3 separate regions of the Homo sapiens genome follow, and all the other regions are linked to region 2. Evidence: promoter capture Hi-C in human tissues and cell types (Jung and others, 2019). All regions are on one chromosome and are shown on one strand. The core of a region is centred on a gene start or on the middle of the fragment in contact, and the rest is flanking DNA. Distances in the headings are between cores, read along the strand shown.

Region 1 (4,191 bases), core at 1-2,500, 780 kb after region 2:
CTCTATTTCATTTCTCTTCACTCTGTATTTCCTACAATTTGTAACTTTGAGTTTATTTTGCTCTTCTTCTTCTAGTTCCCTATGTTGTAAAATTGGGTTATTGATTTGAAGTCTTTCTCTTTTTTTAATGTAGGTGTTTATGGCTATAAGTTTCCCTCTGAGCACTGCTCTGAAGTTTTGGAATGTTGTGCTTTTGTCTTCATTCATCTCAAGGTAATTTCCAATTTCCATTGTAATTTCTTCTTTGACTATTGGTTGTTTATGAGTCTACACATTTTTACAATATTAAGAGAAAAACTTCCAATGTCTTAAGCCCTCAGGATTAATTCATTCTGCTTTTTGCATCCAAGTTCCTCTTGTTAGGGCCCATTCTTGTCACTGGTTAACCAGGAAGCACGGTGCCTTTGTTATTTTTAATAGGGACCATAAAATATTACGTTAAAAATAATAATCAAAGGTAAAATCAACTCTCATACAGATACAAAATGAACATGTCAAAGATTTTATTGACTTCACCATTAATTAGGGAATTAATAAGATGTTACAACCAGTTAAAAGGAGAAGTCAGAGAAGCATAAGTATATATGGAGTAAAGGAATGTTGAAATGAATTTACAAATACGAACTTTGCTTTTCCTACGGCTTGGAGGGGGTCATTTTAGCCATGCTAACAGACATTTTTGCATGTCTACAGGCAATAGTTATTTTGCATTGCTACCAATTACCTACAACTTACGGAGGTATGAAATGGATCAAAGGCTACAATCAGATACCTTGGAAGGGTATGCTCTACACAATGCATAGTTTTCCACTGGAAATACTCAGTAATGTTTTCTGCTAATTCCAAATTTCCTCCTACTATGACATGGAAAATAAAAAGAGAAAAACTAAAGGTGTGGATGAGAACAGAAATTCATGGAGGCAACTCCACCGCTAAATAAAAATGCAAACTAAAATGAGGAAAGATTAATGCACCCACTGTGCCCCATGATTAAAGCACCCACTGCGCCTACAGGGTCATATAGAGGAGGTAAGTGGAGCCTGGGACCACAGAAGATGGGTGAGGGGATGACAGTGAAGTGAGTCAGCTGCCCATCTTCCCAACAGGCACAGACCGCACCCGGGAGTCCACAGTTAGATCTGTCTGCAAACTGAGACCAACAATCAAAAGACAGAGGTCCTGGAGGTGCCAAAGGCAGACAAATAAACAGACTTGGCTGCAAGATGGCGAAACATGGTGCTGCGGTGGCTTCAGCCAAGGTCTCCCTGTGGCTTCCCAGAGGGTGGTGGTGACTCAGAGTGTGTCAGGGATGATTAACAACTGGTTTTGCATGTGGCCTGAGAACGCAGATCCCCTGAAGCCCTGGGGCAGGAAGCATATCCGGGAGGGCCGGACCCAGGAGCTTTCCCAAACCCACCCAGCGCCCAACTCCATGTCCATCTGGGAGCTGTGAGAGGGTGGCAGCTCAGGTGCTACCTCCCTAACCAACTAGCCCTCCAGTGAATCAACCCGCCAGGAAATCTAGAAAATAACAGTAACTTTAAATACTTTTCAGATAGGCACTATATAAACATTGAGGTATTATTATTTGAATTAAGGCAATACTTTATTTTCAAGGGATCAAGATGTTTATAATCCAGGTATTACACTATCTGTTTATTTTCAGTAACACACATATTGTTTTATAGCTTTCGAGTACATTTAAGTTATTTGTACATGTGTTAATCATTCTTCCTCAGGTGCTGGTCATGCCTATACAGGGAAGGTGACCAGACAGAACTGAAGAAATAAAAATCAAAAAATTCAAGGAAAATAAATTATTTCAAGCAAAACTATTTCAGTCAAAAGCAGGTCTAGGGGCTGAATTCTTAAAGCTTTGCCGCATGTCCTCATTTCCCTTGGTACAATGGCATTTCAGAGCCTGTTTACACTGCTTTCTAAATGGACAAGTCCAAACCATGTTTGCTACAGTCCGAGAACATCAACATGTTGAAAGACAGCTTTGGTTTTTTAAAATCCTACTGTATTTCATTTGCGACTTTGAAAAACATTCGTGCTTTAGTGGACTGGATTTTTTTTAAAAAGAAGAAGAAGGAAAAGAAGAAGGAAAAAGAGCCAAGTTGTGGCTCCACCCCTCTGCCACTTGCTGCCGTGAGCTTTCCTGTTCCATTTCGCTGGGGAAAAAGCACTCTGCACAGGTCAAGCCAAACTGTCCGGAGAAGGCGTCTGCACTGCTCATGAGTAAAAGAGAAGGATTTCATTCCCTTTCCTTCCCACATCAAAGAGGGCACTCAGGGAGGAAATAAACTGTAATTGGGCATGAGCCAGCAATCAGACAGCCCCCTTCCTCAGCCTTCCCCAACCCTGCCCCTCCAAAATAAAACAAATAGACATTATCCTCATCTACAACATTTATGAATAGAAACATCTTTTATTAGAAAACAAAAAGCCATGAAGAAGAAAACACGTAGAACGTCCCTAGCGTGGAAACAGGCCGAGCCAAGCAGCCCCCACACTCAGGCTGGCGCTGAGAACTGAGGCCCCTTCCTGTCGGCTTGAAGGGGACTTGCTATTCCTCTGTCTCATTAGCATGTCTTTGCTCTTCCGGACCATCCGCCCAGACAAATGGGAGGACTGTTCCTGCCAGGAACTTCCCTGAAGGCCCATCCACTCTTCAGTAGGAAGCAGTAGAAGTTTGCCCCTAGGAGTCTTTGAAGTCCTCGAAACCCTTGCTTGCTGTTTCCACCAACTCTGCGCTGCAATATCGCGATTCTTACCCAACCCTCACCAAGAGCCTGCTTTGAAAGACCGCCTTCAATCACAGTTGCAACTCTCAATCCAGTCTGACCTTGCCTTCCCACTTCGAGCCCTGCCAGTGCTTTGCCGGGTGGTCTTCCCCAAGACAACAGTGACAGTCAACTCAACTCTGTCTTCTCAACGGCCAGTGCTGGGAGGGCTGGGGACAGCGTGAGACAGGACAAAGGGCAGACAGCAGCAGCCCTATGACACCACAGGCCAGGCAGCCACTTTGGGAAGCCACTGACTCACATTTCCTGGCTCCCTCTGGGTCCCTGGGGACCCTGCCACACCAGGAAACCTGGATGAGGCAGTGGATGAGGGGTATGTCCCGCTCATAAAGCAGACAGAGGAACCGCATGGGAAGTGAGGCGAGCATTTCCAAATGAAATCTCCACCCTCAATGGCAGGCCTGGGTTCCTGTGAAAAGTCAACGGCCCCTGAGGGGGCTGCTGGAGCAGCAGGACAGCCTAGCAGTGGCCTCCACCCCTGCCCACAGCCCTGAGATCCAGCCGAGGGCTGCCATGGACATGTACGTGCTGCACACAGGCTGAGAGAGGCTGGCACTGGCGCAGGACAAGTGGTCCTGCTGGCCCCTTCCTCCCAGCACAGAAAGGACTTCCCACTGGACAGATGGTGCGTGGCTGGCAGGAAAGCTCCATCAGCTCTGACTCTGCAACTCCAGCCCTTGTGATCCATCCACGGTGGTATTGTCTTGGTCACTTAGCACTGACACCCAATTCTGAAGTTTGCCACAATCCAGGGGTGCCCAGAGCAGCTGCCTTTTTTTTTTTTTTTTTTTTTTTTTTTGAGACGGAGTTTTACTCTGTTGCCCAGGCTGGAGTGCAGTAGCGTTATCTCGGCTCACTGCAACCTCTGCCCCACCAGGTTCAAGCAATTCTCCTGCCTCAGCCTCCCTAGTAGCTGGGATTATAGGTGCCCGCCACCACACCTGGCTAATTTTTGTGCTTTTAGTGGAGACGGAGTTTCACCATGTTGGCCGGGCTGGTCTCGAACTCCTGACCTCAAGTGATCCGCCCACCTCGGCCTTCCAAAGTGCTGGGATTACAGGCGTGAGCCACCATGCTGGGCCTAGAGTGGCTGCCTATTACACTATGCAGCACACAATGCCCCAACAGGAGTCACCAGCCTCAATGCAGCCCCTGCCAGGGGTTTTCCCAAGTCCAGCATCTTACACAATAGGGTCTTGTTTTAAGAACCCAGAGGCCACTTACTACAAGCAAGGAAGGCATTGCAGTGTGCGCTGCTACTGCTGACATATCAAAGCCCCCTGGAGGCACCTCTGCCATTAGAGACCCCTGTGCAGCAACTTCCATATGTCATTTCCCAAGAAAACCTGTTTTTCTGTTTACCCCCTTTATTCTAGCATTGGTA
Region 2 (3,950 bases), core at 474-2,973:
GTTCCCAGAGCACATTTTCAGGCCCGCGTATAATACATACTACAGGTTGCGCACAGAATCTCTTTCACAAGATTTTCCCTCCGTCTAAAACATTCCGTATTTTTCAAGCTCTGCTCACAAATCATCTCCTCCTCAAATTTTCTCAGGCAGAATAAACTTCTCCCTCTGGGTTACCTATGCACAGTTAATACAGCTTTTTTGTGGTCCCTATTCCACACACTATTCTTATTACAAATTTTGCGTTTGCTCCCACTAGAAAGCAGAATGTTGTGGGAACCTCCTGCACCAGGAGAGCCCCAGCACCTTACACGCTGACTGCCTCGAGTCATGTGATAGAGCTTGAGTTTTTCCACTGTTTGAAAACTGGCTCTGCGATCTTTCACCTGTGCAGTTGGGGGCAAGTCGTTATGAGGCTTCCCTGAGTCTCATTTCCTCTTACGAAAAATTAGAATCTCTATTTGGAAAGTTATTGTGAAGATCTCAGCTTATGAAATTATGTATGTGAAGCACCCACCACAGAGCACAATGCTGACTTTTTCTTTTCTTTTTTTTTTTTTTTTTTGAGACGGAGTCTCGCTCTGTGGCCCAGGCTGGAGTGCAGTGGCGCGATCTCGGCTCACTGCAAGCTCTGCCTTCCGGGTTCAGGCCATTCTCCTGCCTCAGGCTCCCGAGTAGCTGGGACTACAGGCGCCCGCCACCACGCCCGGCTAATTTTTTGTATTTTTAGTAGAGACGGTTTTCACCGTGTTAGCCAGGATGGTCTGGATCTTCTGACCTTGTGATCCGCCCGCCTCGGCCTCCCAAAGTGCTGGGATTGCAGACGTGAGCCACCGCGCCCGGCCCACAATGCTGACTTTCTATTAACTGTAACTGCCAGATAAAAATGCACTGGAGTAATGAAACGGGGGGAAGAGGCTGCCAAAAGGATGAATTAAGGATTATCAGTTCAGTCCCACAAACATTTGCAGGGTGCCTACTACGTACTGTACCAGAGGTGGCAGGACATACACATCAAAGGACGAACGAAGCACAGTCCCTGCCCACAGGGACAGTAAAATGCCAGATGACAAAGGTTCACCGAGGAGTTTTTGGGGTAAACCTATGGTCCCCTCCACACAGGGGGCTCTTCTAGGGCGGTGGTTCTCAACAGAGCGATGTTGTTCCCCAGATGACATTTTGGGTTGCCACAAATGGGGAAGAGATGCGACCGGCACCCAGCAGGTAGAGGCCAAGGATGCTGCTAACGAGCCTCCGATGCACAGACAGCCCCCACCACAATCTTCAGGAGCAGAGCGCCCAAGTAGAGAAGCCCTCGCCCCGCAGCACTGCGCCGAGTCCCCGCCCACACCGGCTCTGGGGAGCGGACTTCCGGCGGGGTGGACCCACGGCGCTTCCCGAGGCGCCGCAGAGCTGACCCCGACCCCGGGAGTGTGACCCAGAGGACACCGAGCCCCGGCAGCCCTGCGGGCACCAGCGCGCCGAGGCCCCTCAGCCCTGAGCCCTCCCTCCCGCCCCCCCCGGGTGCTAAGGCCGCGCCAGTGAGAGACGGACCCGGCGTCTACACACAGGCCCCCGGAAGGTTCTCACTCACTATTTCTCTGCTTTGGCGAGGTGTTCCAGCCCCTCGTTTATCTTCTGAGCCGCCATCTCCACAGTCAGGTCTCTGACGTGGAGAGAGGGTGACCCTGCCTCTTCCTCCGGCGCCAAGAATCCGCCCAAATAGGCGTGGGAACGCCGAGGAGGAAGCTGGTGCAGCGCGACAGTCGAGCGGCTACGGAGGGCCGGAGGGCCCAAGCCGCTGCGACGAAGCGGGGCTGGGAGCCTGCCGGTGCGCCCCGCAAAGAGACATTGCGCAGGCGCAGCGCGTCAAGGCTGGCCCCACCTAGGGCATCTAGCGCAGGCGCGGTGAGATACTGATGGGGCGTATTCTTTCATTCAATATTTGCAAAGCACCTAATATGTGTCAGGCACTATTTTAGATGCGGGAAGATCAGCAGACAAAAACTCCCGCCCTCTTGAAGTCTTGCTTTTTCATTAATGTGAAACTGCTGTGGATCCTGTTTGTAGGGTTAATTGGCTTTATAATTTATTACATCTGAAGTTTCTCTGTATGACAGATAGAATAGTATTCTTCTATCCATTCTGCCTTTTGGGTATTAATTGTATGTCAGTCAAGAAACGAAACAGACTTGTAAACCCTGATTACTGTCAAATAATCCGCGCCCAACCCAAATAATCGCTCTAATATTTCAAGCCGTGATAAGTGCTCTAAATGGGAAGTTGAGGGATCTAAAGTCGCGTACAGTGGTCTGGTAAAAATAGTAACCAGTAATACAGTTGGCTTCATTCATAATTCATGGTGATTTCAATATCCACATGGATGATTCCTGCAATGACTATACAGCCTCTCAGCTTCCAACCTCCTGTGATCTTTCCCACACTAGCGCAGCCACACATTCCTGGGATCACACCCTTGACCTTACTCATAACTGTGTACCCTCCGTAGTGTCAGTTTCAAACAGCTCACTTTACTTCCCCTTTCCATTCCAGCTCATACCTCCTAGTGCTAGTAATTACTTAACCTTCACCAGATTCCTCACCTTTCCCTATCCCTCTGCTCTTACACGTCCTTCTTTTCCCAGCATAAATTCATGTCCCATCATTTTAGTGCGTATACTCTCAACGGCCTTGGCTCCCTCTCCCTCCTTTCTCCAAGCCAGGAAAAACCCCAGCTCTCCACCTACTCTGGAACTGCTCTTGAGCAAGTGAATTTGACTGGAAAAAAACAAACGAGGATGCTAACATTACTCATTTTAATGATCATAAACATTAAGCCGACCTTTGGTGCTGCTGAGCAACTCTCCTATGTTTCCATGGTCAAATCACTCACCCACTCACTTGGAGGGCTGTTCACACCTTCCTTCTCAAAACTCCTACACAATCTCTGCTTGCCTGCCAACTCTCACTTATTGTTGAATATGAAATAACTATTCGAAGAGTTCTTCCCTTTGGCCTCACCACACAATCGATCGATCTTCCTGCATCTATTTGCCAATCAATATTTTGCATTTTTTCTAGTGCCAACAGGTGAACTGGCCTTGGATTTTTTTCTCTATCCTCACTTTCTTATTTAGTACCCACACACAAGACCCCTCTTCATTTGGTTGTCTAGCCTGGGCTTCCTTTATAGGAAGGCAGCAGAATTTCAAGAGAGTGAAAGTGGAAACTTCAGGCTTCGTAAGGCCTGGACTCCCACTGCACATTACTTCTGCCACATTTTATTGATGAAAACATGTCATAAGGCAAGTTCAGATTCAAGAGGTAGGAAAATAGAGGAGTGTAAAATACTTTGGCCATGACTTCCAATTCACCACAACTCTGGGATGACTGATTAAATATAAAAGGACTGTTACCAGTGGAAAGCCTTATGTTTTCAAGTGAGTTTAGATTTATTAACCACCCAATACCATCACCCTCTAAAACCATTGAAAGTGCCCAGAAAGTTTTCTAAGCCTATAACCTCCTCCACATTCTCCCTTATTTATTCATTCATTATTGAATTATTGTTTACTGAATGCCCACTCTGCACAAGACATTAAGCCTACACACCTAGGACCCAATTGTTGAGCAAGAGATATAATGCCTGCCCTCATTGCATTCATGATCTATGAGAGGATACAATATTTAACTTAATTTTACTTTGGCATCAACAAAGAAAGAATGGGAAAAAAACCCCACGATAGTGATATAGCAGTTATTAAGAAATACTTTTTAGGCAGATAGTAAGGGTAAATGTTCTCAGTGGAAATTTTCCTGTTTTAAGAAACAACCCCTGAACCATCTCTTTTCTAACAGAAAAGGCAGCTTGAAGAGCCAGGCCCGCAAGCTTTGATATGCAAATGTCAGTCCTTAGAAACTGAGTTCACTCAACATGGTGATTCCGCCATCTC
Region 3 (4,038 bases), core at 1,433-3,932, 710 kb after region 2:
CTGTATTTCCCTATCATTTTCTCTTATTTCTTCTCTGGTTGAATCAATGCCACATTGACTACCAAAAGTGAAAGGCCATTAATTAAGTTACTACACTGAGGGCAGACATAACAAAGGCATGATACCTTTGTACACTCAGGGATGACACTCAGGGATGGAGGACAGCATCTACACGGATGACACTCAGGGATGGAGGACAGCATCTACACGGATGACACTCAGGGATGGAGGACAGCATCTACACGGATGACACTCAGGGATGGAGGACAGCATCTCCACGGATGACACTCAGGGATGGAGGACAGCATCTACACGGATGACACTCAGGGATGGAGGACAGCATCTACACGGATGACACTCAGGGATGGAGGACAGCATCTACACGGATGACACTCAGGGATGGAGGACAGCATCTACACGGATGACACTCAGGGATGGAGGACAGCATCTCCACGGATGACACTCAGGGATGGAGGACAGCATCTACACGGATGACACTCAGGGATGGAGGACAGCATCTACACGGATGACACTCAGGGATGGAGGACAGCATCTACACGGATGACACTCAGGGATGGAGGACAGCATCTACACGGATGACACTCAGGGATGGAGGACAGCATCTACACGGATGACACTCAGGGATGGAGGACAGCATCTACACGGATGACACTCAGGGATGGAGGACAGCATCTACACGGATGACACTCAGGGATGGAGGACAGCATCTACACGGATGACACTCAGGGATGGAGGACAGCATCTACACGCATGACACTCAGGGATGGAGGACAGCATCTACACGGATGACACTCAGGGATGGAGGACAGCATCTACACGGATGACACTCAGGGATGGAGGACAGCATCTACACGGATGACACTCAGGGATGGAGGACAGCATCTACACGCATGACACTCAGGGATGGAGGACAGCATCTACACGGATGACACTCAGGGATGGAGGACAGCATCTACACGGATGACACTCAGGGATGGAGGACAGTATCTACACGGATGACACTCAGGGATGGAGGACAGTATCTACACAAAAGAGATTTCAATGCATCTTACCTAATATCTGAGAGGTCGCACTTGTTTCCAGCGATGGCCATTACAATGTTTTCTGGACCATGTTCTTTCAGCTCCTTGACCCATTTCTTCAAGGTATAAAATGAATCCTAAACCAACAGTGTACACAAATCATTAGAAAGACCCCTCAATATAATATTTCAACTAAGCAGAAATACAAGCCCAGTACAATTTAATGGAGAAAAATATTTTTAGGAGACTCATGCAGATTAACATACTACCTCTGTCTAGGCACAAAAGTTAATGTTAGCTGAAATATACTTAAATAGACCATATCAAGTTTTCTAAAATTAAAACTTGATCTAGTTAAGAAAATCATATCAGTGATTTTTCTCCTATAAATAACATTAATTTAAAATGATAGCCTGGACTCCACATGAATAAGAATAACAGGACTAAGTAAATGCTCATGCTTACACCAAGGAAGAAACATATATATTTAGAGTCCTGTCTTCCTGTTGGCCCTTCACTCACAATTGTCCTCTAGAAAACAGGCCAAGGGCAACACACCACATTTAGGTAGAAGTGGTCAGGAACTCGTGGAAAGTAACAGTGATGGGTCATTAAACTAACAGTCTTATGTGCTGAGTCAACACTCCAGAGAAAAAAAAGTAAATAATTCAGTTTGCAGGAGTGGGAAAAAATGTCATCAAACTACTGCGGTTATTTGTTGATGGAAGTCTAAGACCTTCAACGTGATAACTAAAAATATACTTATATATACACACACAAAGATTTACTTACATACACACGAATGTTATGCTTGGCATTTTAAGTATGTAGTATGATTGAAACAGTAACAAAAATAAGTATTCTGTAATTATAAAGCATGCAGAAATTAAAAATGATTTTCCTTTTCTTTAAAAGCTGACATTCTGCAGAATAGTACTAGCAGGCATGACTTTGCCTCTACAGTCAATTTTAAGAATGAATGGTCATTATTGTTTAATTTAGCAGATAAATATGGGATGCTTTGTTACATATACATGAAATAAACTCAATATATAGTGGCACGCTACTGGCAAGATGCAAGCAGTGACGTCTCTGCTCCAGTCTCTCTAAGTGAGAGAACCACCATAAATGACATCTAAATTCTGAAGGAGACATTCTTACCTGCTTGGTAATATCATACACGATAACAGCTGCAGCTGAGCCTCGATAGTACATGGGAGCCAATGAATGAAACTGTTTAAGAACAATGAACAGTTTTAGGCCAAAGTGAACAGACTTTATTCAATCCCAAATTAAACATAAACGTTTTATCCTACATCATCCTTACAGGATCCCTAAATTCCTTCCCTATATAATTTTTCCATGGTTCATATTATTTATTTATTTTATTTTATTTTTTTGAGATGGAGTTTCACTCTTTTCACCCAGGCTAGAGTGCAATGGCATAATCTTGGCTCACTGCAACCTCCACCTCCTAGGTTCAAGCGATTCTCATGCCTTGGCTTCCTGAGTAGCCAGGATTACAGGCATGCACCACCACATCTGGATCATTTTTGCATTTTTATTAGAGACAGAGTTTCACCATGCTGGCCAGGCTGGTCTCAAACTCCTGACCTCAGGTGGTCCACCTGCCTCAGCCTCCCAAAGTGCTGGTATTACAGGTGTGAGCTACCGCACCCGGCCCCAGAGTTCATATGAAATAATAAATCTTCCTCCTCATCAACACATATGTATGCTTGTGGTTTATTGACCATGAAATCTACTGTTGGGTAAAGGCCAAAAACAAATTTTATTTTAAATGTTACCATCTTGTGAATTTTCTTTTCCCTGCTGCTCATCATTTCTCTAATATAACTGACTGACCCAGGGTAATCTCATTAGAATTATGCGGCAGTAAAGGAAAGATGTATGGCAAGGAGAGGGAAAGGGAACACTGGCAAAGATCACAGGACCCTTGCTGAGCCATTAATGAGGACCAGTCAGCAAGGGCAACCTTGGCAGCAGCTGCCTCGGGTCTGGAGGGGCTGCCACCTCTCCAACGCGGGGCTTCACACCTACCTAAGGTCCACAAATGACAAGACAGCAGAGGAGCTCCATTCCAAAATGTTAACAAAGCAAGTGCTGCTGGTCACTAGCATCGTTCATCCCCAGACAGGAGAGGTCATTAGTCTCAGAATGCATACATTTTATGTATATTTTGGAGAAGGGTCCAGTCTTAATCTGCATATTTTTTTAAATTAAAAAGTATCCTGGAGGGGCCGAGTGCAGTGGCTCACGCCTGTAATCCCAACACTTGGGAGGCTGAGGCAGGCAGGATCACCCGAGGTCAGGAGTTTGAGAACAGCCTGGCCAATATGGTGAAACCCGTCTCAACTAAAAATACAAAAATTAGCTGGGCATGGTGGCAGATGCCTGTAATCCCAGCTACTTGGGAGGCTGAGGCAGGAGAAATGCTAGAACCCGGGAGGCAGAGGTTGCAGTGAGCTAAGATTGCAAAACTGCACTCCTGCCTGGAAGACAGAGTGAGACTTTATCTCAAAAAAAAAAAAAAAAAAAAAAAAAATAGTATCCTGGAGGGGTTTTGAAAGTCAATAAGAAAAAGATGGCTTAATAGAAAAATGGACAAAGATATATATAAAGGTAAATCACAGAAGACATATACATTGCCAACAAATATTTTAAAACATGTTCAATTAGAATCGGAAGAACACCAATAAAAATAAGGAGACACTTATAAATTATTAAATTGTAAAAAGATTTGTGCTGTTCAGTGTTGGTGTGGGTTTGGGAAGGGAGGCACACATACTCTACATGGAATGTGCTGAATATCTTCTTTCAAAGCAACTGTTGGTAATATAATCAAAAGTTGAAATGTGTGTCCCATTTGACCCAGCAATTCCACTTAGAGGAATATATACTGGAGTGACCATCACACGCAGGAAGACACATCCCTGCGCTGTTTATGGGAGTAAATGGGAATTGACTCATGGTATAA

The links. Contacts are between HindIII fragments. The study calls those that stand out against the background at their distance.
Region 1: a contact is called between a fragment that was not itself captured here and the fragment with the promoter of NAPG in region 2, in 1 of the 25 tissues and cell types used here (lymphoblastoid cells).
Region 3: a fragment that was not itself captured here is called in contact with the fragment with the promoter of NAPG in region 2 in 1 of the 25 tissues and cell types used here (IMR-90 fibroblasts).

The regions. Positions count from the first base shown.
Region 1 is chr18:9,740,792-9,744,982 of GRCh38, reverse strand. All of the region lies in intron 1 of RAB31 (RAB31, member RAS oncogene family), which reads right to left. Among named protein-coding and RNA genes, the nearest start is that of RAB31, 35 kb to the right of the region's middle. RefSeq lists an enhancer at 1,157-1,451. The HindIII fragment of the contact is 7,473 bases long and covers 1-4,191 here.
Region 2 is chr18:10,523,800-10,527,749 of GRCh38, reverse strand. It overlaps NAPG (NSF attachment protein gamma), which reads right to left and starts at 1,723. Exons shown (of 12, transcript NM_003826.3): 1 at 1,592-1,723. The coding sequence starts at 1,647. RefSeq lists a silencer at 1,331-1,580. The HindIII fragment of the contact is 8,483 bases long and covers 1-3,950 here.
Region 3 is chr18:9,812,258-9,816,295 of GRCh38, reverse strand. RAB31 (RAB31, member RAS oncogene family) reads right to left here. Exons shown (of 7, transcript NM_006868.4): 4 at 2,205-2,276; 5 at 1,074-1,180. Among named protein-coding and RNA genes, the nearest start is that of TXNDC2, 72 kb to the left of the region's middle. The HindIII fragment of the contact is 8,789 bases long and covers 1-4,038 here.